2 separate regions of the Homo sapiens genome follow, and region 1 is linked to region 2. The links are contacts of gene promoters, found by promoter capture Hi-C in human tissues and cell types (Jung and others, 2019). All regions are on one chromosome and are shown on one strand. Each heading gives the region's core, a stretch centred on a gene start or on the middle of the fragment in contact. The rest is flanking DNA. Distances are from core to core; before and after follow the strand shown.

Region 1 (4,109 bases), core at 658-3,157, 350 kb after region 2:
ACTGTGACCTGCTGAAGGCAGCGGTGGTCCTGGCATCTGCCACAGCCCCCTCCCCCAACAGCACTTCATCACCTCCGTGAACGGAAGTGAATGGAAGGAACAGCTCAATTAGGATGGCAGAGGATCAAGGAGAGAATTCCACGGACCCAAAACATCCTGCAAAAAGGCTTTGTCCCCAGAGGTTGGTCTTCAATTTGGAAAAATTCCTACCTGAGCAACTGTAGGACCCCTCTGAAATGGAACAGGGTCTATTAGACTCATAAAAAGCCTCAGTGATGAGTTGGTTATTATTATTCTCTTTACTTTTCTGTACATTTAAAGTGTTTTATATTTTAAATTGAATGTAAAAAGATCCCATCCTATTTAAAAGTTAGTGAGTTGAATAAGTTTCATTATAACTTGATTTTCTTCCTAAAGGTTTTCCTATAGTTCAAATTATAAAAGTCATTCTTAGATTCCCAGCTTAGTTCCCCCATGAAATCACGAGTTCTTAGACTGTGTTTCACACAATGCCAGGTCACATTGCACCCTTACTGAAAGGAACTTCTTGTGCAGAGTGCGGGGCTCTTGGAGAAAGAAAAGTACCACTTTTTTAGCACATTAAAAACAAATCCTTGAGCTGTTTTATTATTTTAATACTTTACCTTTAGTGGAGCAGAAATGATTTATTTGATGGTTTTGGCAGGTGATTTTTTTTTTCGGAATCTTCTTTAACACTATTAGCCATGTAACTATTGCCAAGTACATAATAAGTACTCAATAATTATTATTATCTTTTAATTAAAATGTGATGCACTTCTAAACTAAAGGTAACTTCAGTCATGTAGAATAGAAAGCAATGGGTGGAGCTTCCAATTGCTTCTCTTTGGTATTCATTAGAAATCATTTTTGAAACTGAGAAGTTGGGGGAAAGATCAGACATTTTTATGGAAACTGCATTGATGACAGCAGAGTGTAATTTTGTTGGTAGTGATTTGATACACAATTATTTGAGGGATTTACTGTGCTCATGGATTAGCGCTGTGTTGTTACTGTAACAGAGGATTGGCGCAGAGCCCTGGCCCAGTGCAAAGCTCTCTAACATCGTTTCTCTTCCTTCATCAGCAGCCCAAAGCCCCCCTCTCTACAACTCCATGCAGCACAGTCCTGGCACAAACCCCTAACCTGAAATTCCAGCCAATTTCACTAACAACACGCCTCTCCCCTTCACCTGCCAGATGCTTCTCGTTCTCAGACACTGCACCCTGAAATTGGGAGCTTTCACTGAGTTAAAAAGGCAAATATAGAATTACCTAGCTGTATCAGTATTTTAAGTGCACTTGTAGACTTAAATGAGAGCTCTTGTACAAAACCACTTGTATTCTTTCTTAAGATATGCTAATTTTTTTCTCTCTTTGATTGAACTGTTGACCTTCTGGATATATGACTAGTTATTACTTCAAGTATGTTTGGAACTATTCTTGCCCTAACTGTTCTAAAATGTAATTAGCATTGAGACATTATTGTAGAAGCACAGCACCTGGGGCTGGGATCTCATTAGATGGCAAAAATTGAGCAGAATTGTGCATGCTCCATGCTCAAAATATCTCTAAGAAAAATTAATGGCATTAGGGGGAAAGTTAAAATTGGTGATTTCGTAGGCCCTTTCTTGCTCACATATTTGATTCGTATAAGGATCCAAACAGAAAGGAGATTGTGGTTCTTCTGTTTAAAAAATGAAGACAACTCTGCTTTCTTAGAACTCTTCTTATGTAATGTGGCTGCTGTCACATCTCTGGGTCAACCAAAACCAAAATAATACATTTTCTGGCTCTAGCTTTTTCCCCCCTCAAGAAATGCATAGCATTTTTAGGCATTATCTGATTTTTCCTTGCAACAACAGATGTTACAGAGAATGAATATTCTGTAAGAGGTAGTTAACAAAGTGTGGAAAAACTGAGGCCCAAAGAGGTACTATAACTCACGGGTTTTTCACGCTCCTCCCTGAACATTCCCGCATCTCTTCTACTGGGGAGGGAGCTCTTTATTTTCTGAATTGAAAACCATTTCATGCCTCCTGCTCAGCTATTTCAGTACTGGCTCCTAAGTTTGGCACCAATCCCAACTGTTATGAAATCGCAGACGAATAATAACGAAGTTCTTCATTGCTGGGATCCCAAAAGGTTATCATTTCGAGTTCATTGCAGGGCACTTTAGACGTCCATATTGGGCCCTAAATGATTGGAACCATCAGGAGAGGGCTTGCCTGACTCTGCCATTCACCTCATTTGTAAGTCTCTGCCGTGTTTCGACACTGAGTTGTGTCTTGTTGTTTAAAAATAACTTCTCATTATAATAACATTTTCCCTTAATTGAAAAAATATTTCTGACCTGAATTTATTATTGTCATAGCTGTGTGAGCAAGCAGAGTCTTGTTTGCCTCTACAATATATTAATAATGTATTAATTAGCTTCCCAGTGCTGCCCAAACAAGGAACAAAAAGGATTTATCTAAATCATGAAAACTGAAGTGAAGCGAACACTTTGGTAATTATATTTTAAGGGCAGTCTCAGCATTTGATAGTGTGGCAAATTTTTGTCCTGCCTTTTGAGAGAAGATAACCAAAAACACCACTCAATTAACAAAACGTTGTTTAGTACCTACTATGCACAAAGTCTGAGAGGTAAAAGAGGTTAAGACAAATAAAATTGTCCAATTTATTTTTATGGCCATAGTTAAAAGGCAATAAAGGCAAGACACTGTGAGTATTTTGATTTAGCTACAATTAGCTGAAATATACTACATCAAATCATATGAAATTGACAATATCTGGGGGCTGGCTGCCGTGACTCATGCCTGTAATCCCAGCACTTTTGGGGCCCAGGATAATCACTTGAGGCCAGGAGTTCAAGGCTACAGTGAGCCAGGGTTGTACCACGGCACTCCAGCCTGGGCCACAGTGTGACCCTGTCTCTAAAGAAATAAAAATAAAAATAAATAGAAGATATTGACAATAGCTGACCCTATTTTTTACCCCAAAAGTGGTGATTTTATATAATTTAATCTAATATTAAGGTATTCTTGTCATACTGTACCAGCTCCTAAACATTATACTTTTCATTTTACTTCTATTTCTAAGCTATCATTATTACAACAACCAAGAGAAGGTAAATACAGGTCAGAGATTTGACTCCTGTTTTTTGTATGTATTTATTTTTGTAGATTCACAAATAACTTATATTTTGCAGTTTTAAGGTTTCTAATTATATTAGACCCTGTTTTTTATTTTATTTAGAGTCATTGTCCTTGCTGCCTGTCCTTCACATGTGACAAGTCAATTCTTCATGCCATTTCCTTCACAATCTTCATGCAAACTCATCATCTCCATTTCCATCTATTCTTCAGAGATGTATGATTGCAGAAAACTCCCCTTTTTTGAAATATTGCTCAATAGAGATTAAATCTAACACCCAGTTTTACCTGTCTATCCTTGAATTACAGGTTACTGAGAAGTCAGAACAGATAGCCATAGAAGTACCCCACTAAATCCATTCTTCTATCTCCTTCAATATTTGACAAATATTTACTAAGCATCTATCTTGAGCAAGCATTGGAGTAAGTCCTCCCATAAATATGAAGTTGTGTAAATAAGGATGCATGCATTCATGTAAATACAAGTTTAATGCTGGATATATATTGTTTTAAGTGCCTGATATGTATTAGTCTATTTATTCCTATCTAAGGGGATAAGTGCCATTGTTGTTTCCATCTTAAAGATGAGGAAACTGAGGCCAGAGAGATTATACGAACTCCTAAAACCCTAACTCTTAACCACAGCATTCAGAATCTATCTGGTTGTAGTGGAGGACCCAATGTCAAAAAAGCAAGTGCTTTTCCCAGACCATGAACACAATGTGTGACAAATTAGCAGTTCTTCCCCTTGCCCTAAGATAGTAAATATCCACCCAGGCCAACTTGTGTCTGTCAGAGAACAAAGAGTGGGCTTGTCACACTGTTTTCTCCCAAGAGGGTCCATCTGCCTCCGCTCCTTTGGTACACGCTAGGGGACACACACTGTCCAGCATATTCTTGCAGAGTCATATCTTACCCCACATCTTATCACAACCCT
Region 2 (3,792 bases), core at 1,147-3,646:
AAGCAGAAAGAGAGAAATTAATTGATCGGTGTGTCTCTCTCCTCTGCGGAAGTGTGGGCTGAATGGGGGCTGGTGCTGAGTCTGGCTCGTGCCCCAGCATAGCCCGAAGCCCACACAGTGCCCACACATAGTAGGTGCTCATTGGGCAAATGAATGAATCAGTAGGGCCTGGGAGAACAGGGCCTGGGCGGAAGGAGAAGGTGCCCCAGTGAGAGGGAAGAGCGGGAGCAGGGCCTAGGACCTGAGGAGGTCCAATCTGGCCAGAGCAAATGGCCAGGGGAGGGAGTGGTGGGCTCCGAGGCTGGCACGGTGGTGGGCAGAGCTGGAACCACCCTAGGGAGGGTGCGTTTCAGCCCAGGAGGTTGACACGTGGCAGGCCAAGGTGCCTGGGAGCTTATGTAAGGCCCGTGGCTGTTTTTCTGGAATCAAGAGCAAAGCCCTGAGCTCAGGAGAAAACTCCGCCTCCCTGACCAGCCAGGGGAAGTGGCAGGAGGTGCCAACCCCTGCCCGTTGCCCCCGGGAGCCAGAGAAATGTCCAAATGCATCAGCTCCGGGTGGCTTGGTCGACAGCCCAGCAGCAGCTGGGTGGGCACCAGGGACGTGGACCCCATCTCTCAATCCCACGGCTCAGACTGGCCCTGTAGGGGTTCTAGGATCCCAGGGACCCCAGTGGACAAAGTTTTAGGGACTAGTACCCTTTGGGGTGAGGTGGTGAGGGGCAGGCCCTGGGAGTGGCTGTCCGTCCCATCTTGCCATTGACTGGTTGCGGAGGCTCTCGGCCAGCGAGGGCACCATCAGTTGTCATGAAGCCCGCCTGGGGGTCTGGTGCTGGGATTCTGGCCTCTCAACACCACCTAGTGCTTCACTTGGCTGGGTGCATAGCCTTGACAACCCGCTTTGTTCTCTTGGCCTCAGTTTCTTCACCTGCCAAATGGGCATAATAGTCCTCCTGAGGTTGTTGTGAGCATCAGACAAGGCCAGGGAGTAGAAGTGCTTTGAGTTGGAGTCGGAGCCAGCAAGATGATTTGCATCACCTAGAACAAAATGAAAATGTGGGACCTCTTGATAAGCAATTAAGAATTTCATGTTGGTGACAGAAGAATTCTAAAGCAAGTTCAGGGCCCTTCTGAGCACGGGGCCCTGTGCAGCTGCCTGAGCCACAGACCCAGGAAGCGGGCTCTGACCGGAATTCTTTTTTTTTTTTTTTTTTGGTGACAGAGTCTTGCTCTGTTGCCCAGGCTGGAATGCAGTGGTGTGATCTTGGCTCACTGCAACCTCCACCTCCCGGGTTCAAGTGATTCTCATGCCTCAGCTTCCCGAGTAGCTGAGATTACAGCGTGTGCCACCACACCCAGCTAATTTTTGTATTTTTAGTACAGATGAGGTCTCACTATGTTGGCCAGGTTGGCCTCAAACTCCTGACCTCAGGTGATCCACCCACCTTGGCCTCCCAAAGTGCTGGGATTACAGGTGTGAGTCACGTGCCTGGCCTTTGACTGGAATTCTATTTCTGCTGTTACTCTGCTACATGTCTGTCCTGTCCCTTCTCTGGGCCTCGGTTTCTTCATCTGTAAGGCAAGGAGGTTAGACTCTAAGATTCCTGGGTTCTCAGCCTTGTAAGGCAGTGGCTGGGAGGTCCCTGGGTCAAGGGCTCAGCTGTAGGTCTCAGCTCAGGGGTTACTTCCTCAGGGAAGCCAACTGTGATTCCCTCCTGGCTTGCCAGCGTTCCCCCAGTCTCTGATTCTGCAGCACCCCAACATTGCCTTTGTAACCTGCATTGTCCTGGCAATAATGTCTGTCTTTACAATCACCTCTTTTTTCTTGCAAGTTTTCTTTACCTTTGATGGTGCAATAAATACATAGCTCTAGTCTTGTAAAAAAGTTAAGATCCCTTCCTTCCTTCCTTCCTTCCTTCCTTCCTTCCTTCCTTTCTTCCCTCCCTCCCTCCCTCTCTCCCTCTCTCCCTCCCTTCCGTCTTTCTTTTCTGTCTATAATTACTTAAACATTTTTTCTCTTAAATAATGAAAGATTTCAAATACAGAAAATTGCCAATAGACAAAAAAAAAAGAGTTAATATCACAATTATATTCTAAGAAGGCTTTATTCTCCCCACTATCTTCGTTTGCCAAAACTGAGGCTCAGCCAGGGTGAGCAGACTTGCCCCATGATCACCCAGCTTGGAAGCAGATTCCAAGTTGGGTGCAGCTGGGCCCTCAGCTGTTTCGTAATCCTCATGCAAGAGTGAGGGTGAGGGGCCTGTGGGGCTCAGGTGGGGCTGTCAGAGCTGCATCCGTCCACTTATTGGTGGAGAGGCAGGTTGGGGAGCATGTACCAGGCCTGTCCCCACCACGTGCCACCCTCTCTGTCTTCCCCAGGGCTCCCAGCTCAGTGTGGACATGGCTGAGAGCGCCTCCCCGCCCTCCTCATCTGCAGCAGCCCCAGCCGCTGAGCCAGGAGTCACCACGGAGCAGCCCGGACCCCGGAGCCCCCCATCCTCCCCGCCAGGCCTGGAGGAGCCTCTGGATGGAGCTGATCCTCATGTCCCACACCCAGACCTGGCGCCTATTGCCTTCTTCTGCCTGCGACAGACCACCAGCCCCCGGAACTGGTGCATCAAGATGGTGTGCAACCCATATCCTCCGCAGCCTCGGCTGATCGGGGCCCTGCAGGGGCTGAAGGGTGGGGGGCTGGATTGAGTCCTGCTGCTCACACCTTGCTCCGGCTGGGAGACCTGAGGTCTGCGGTGAGGCCACTGGGCCTTGGTGGTGGTGAGCGAGCTCAGAGGGTGGGTCTGGGGAGACCTCAAATGGATGAGGACCTGGTGTTCTGCTGATGTGAAGGTTCTGGAAGTTGCTGGTGGCTGTGGGGTCAGTCCAGTGGCTGGCTGGCTCAGAAAGTCCTTGAGTGTGGGCCCCAGACCTGTGCTGGGCTGGGAATGCAGATCAGTCAGACTCTGGAGCCACCTGATGGGCCGTGACCATACAGAGGATGGGAGCCGTGATCAGGAACTGTGGGCGTGGGCAGCGGGGCAGCCGATCCCAACACACAGGGCAGGACTCATTCTCCTTACTGTGCCTCCGAGCAGCCTCTTCCCAGGCCTCCTGCCTCCACTTGCTGCCTCCAGTGGGCTCATGTTCCCCCTGCTTAAGACTGTCATGATTTGCTATGGTCCTGGAGGTGCAGAGCAAAGTCCTAATCCAACCCATCAGGGCCTGTGTGTTCCACCCAGCCTCACTTCCCACCACTTGGCTTCCCCCCTGTGCTCTTCTGAGCCTCAGGGTCCTCTCACTGGCTCTTCCCCCTGTCTGAAAAGCTTTTCCCTTCCCCCTGGACCTGGCCAAATCCTTTGCTACATCCTTAAAATCCCAGCTTAAGCATCACCTCCTCAGGGAAGCCCTCTGGGATTCCTCCTCTGCTTCATATCTAACTGTCACATCTAACTGTGGAATTCTGAATCTAACATTTGCCTCCCCTGGGGTACTGTCAGATGACTGGGATGGGGACCCTAGCACCTGGCACAGTGCTTGGCACATCGTGGGTGCTCTGGCAGTGTTTGCTGGGTGTACATGGGCAATGCCAGAGCTGACTCCTCAATAAGGAAGAGCGTTGGTTGGGTAGAGAGGGTAGTGGGAGGCAGGAGGAGGGCATGGCAGGAGCGAAGCCTGGAGAAGGGAGGAGTTGCAGGCAGTGTTGGAGCCCTGAGGGGCAGAGAGGAGTGAGGTGAGGCTGCAGGTGTGGCGGGAGCCCTGCAGGGCCTTGGAGGCTGCATGAGGGATGGGACTGTGCTCCAAG

What was found. Contacts are between HindIII fragments. The study calls those that stand out against the background at their distance.
Region 1: a contact is called between a fragment that was not itself captured here and the fragment with the promoter of CACNA1I in region 2, in 3 of the 25 tissues and cell types used here (IMR-90 fibroblasts, lymphoblastoid cells and spleen).

Annotation. Positions count from the first base shown.
Region 1 is chr22:39,916,182-39,920,290 of GRCh38, forward strand. The region is part of intron 1 of GRAP2 (GRB2 related adaptor protein 2); the gene reads left to right. Among named protein-coding and RNA genes, the nearest start is that of GRAP2, 17 kb to the left of the region's middle. The HindIII fragment of the contact is 5,666 bases long and covers 1-4,109 here.
Region 2 is chr22:39,568,357-39,572,148 of GRCh38, forward strand. It overlaps CACNA1I (calcium voltage-gated channel subunit alpha1 I), which reads left to right and starts at 2,397. Exons shown (of 37, transcript NM_021096.4): 1 at 2,397-2,632. The coding sequence starts at 2,397. The HindIII fragment of the contact is 10,754 bases long and covers 1-3,792 here.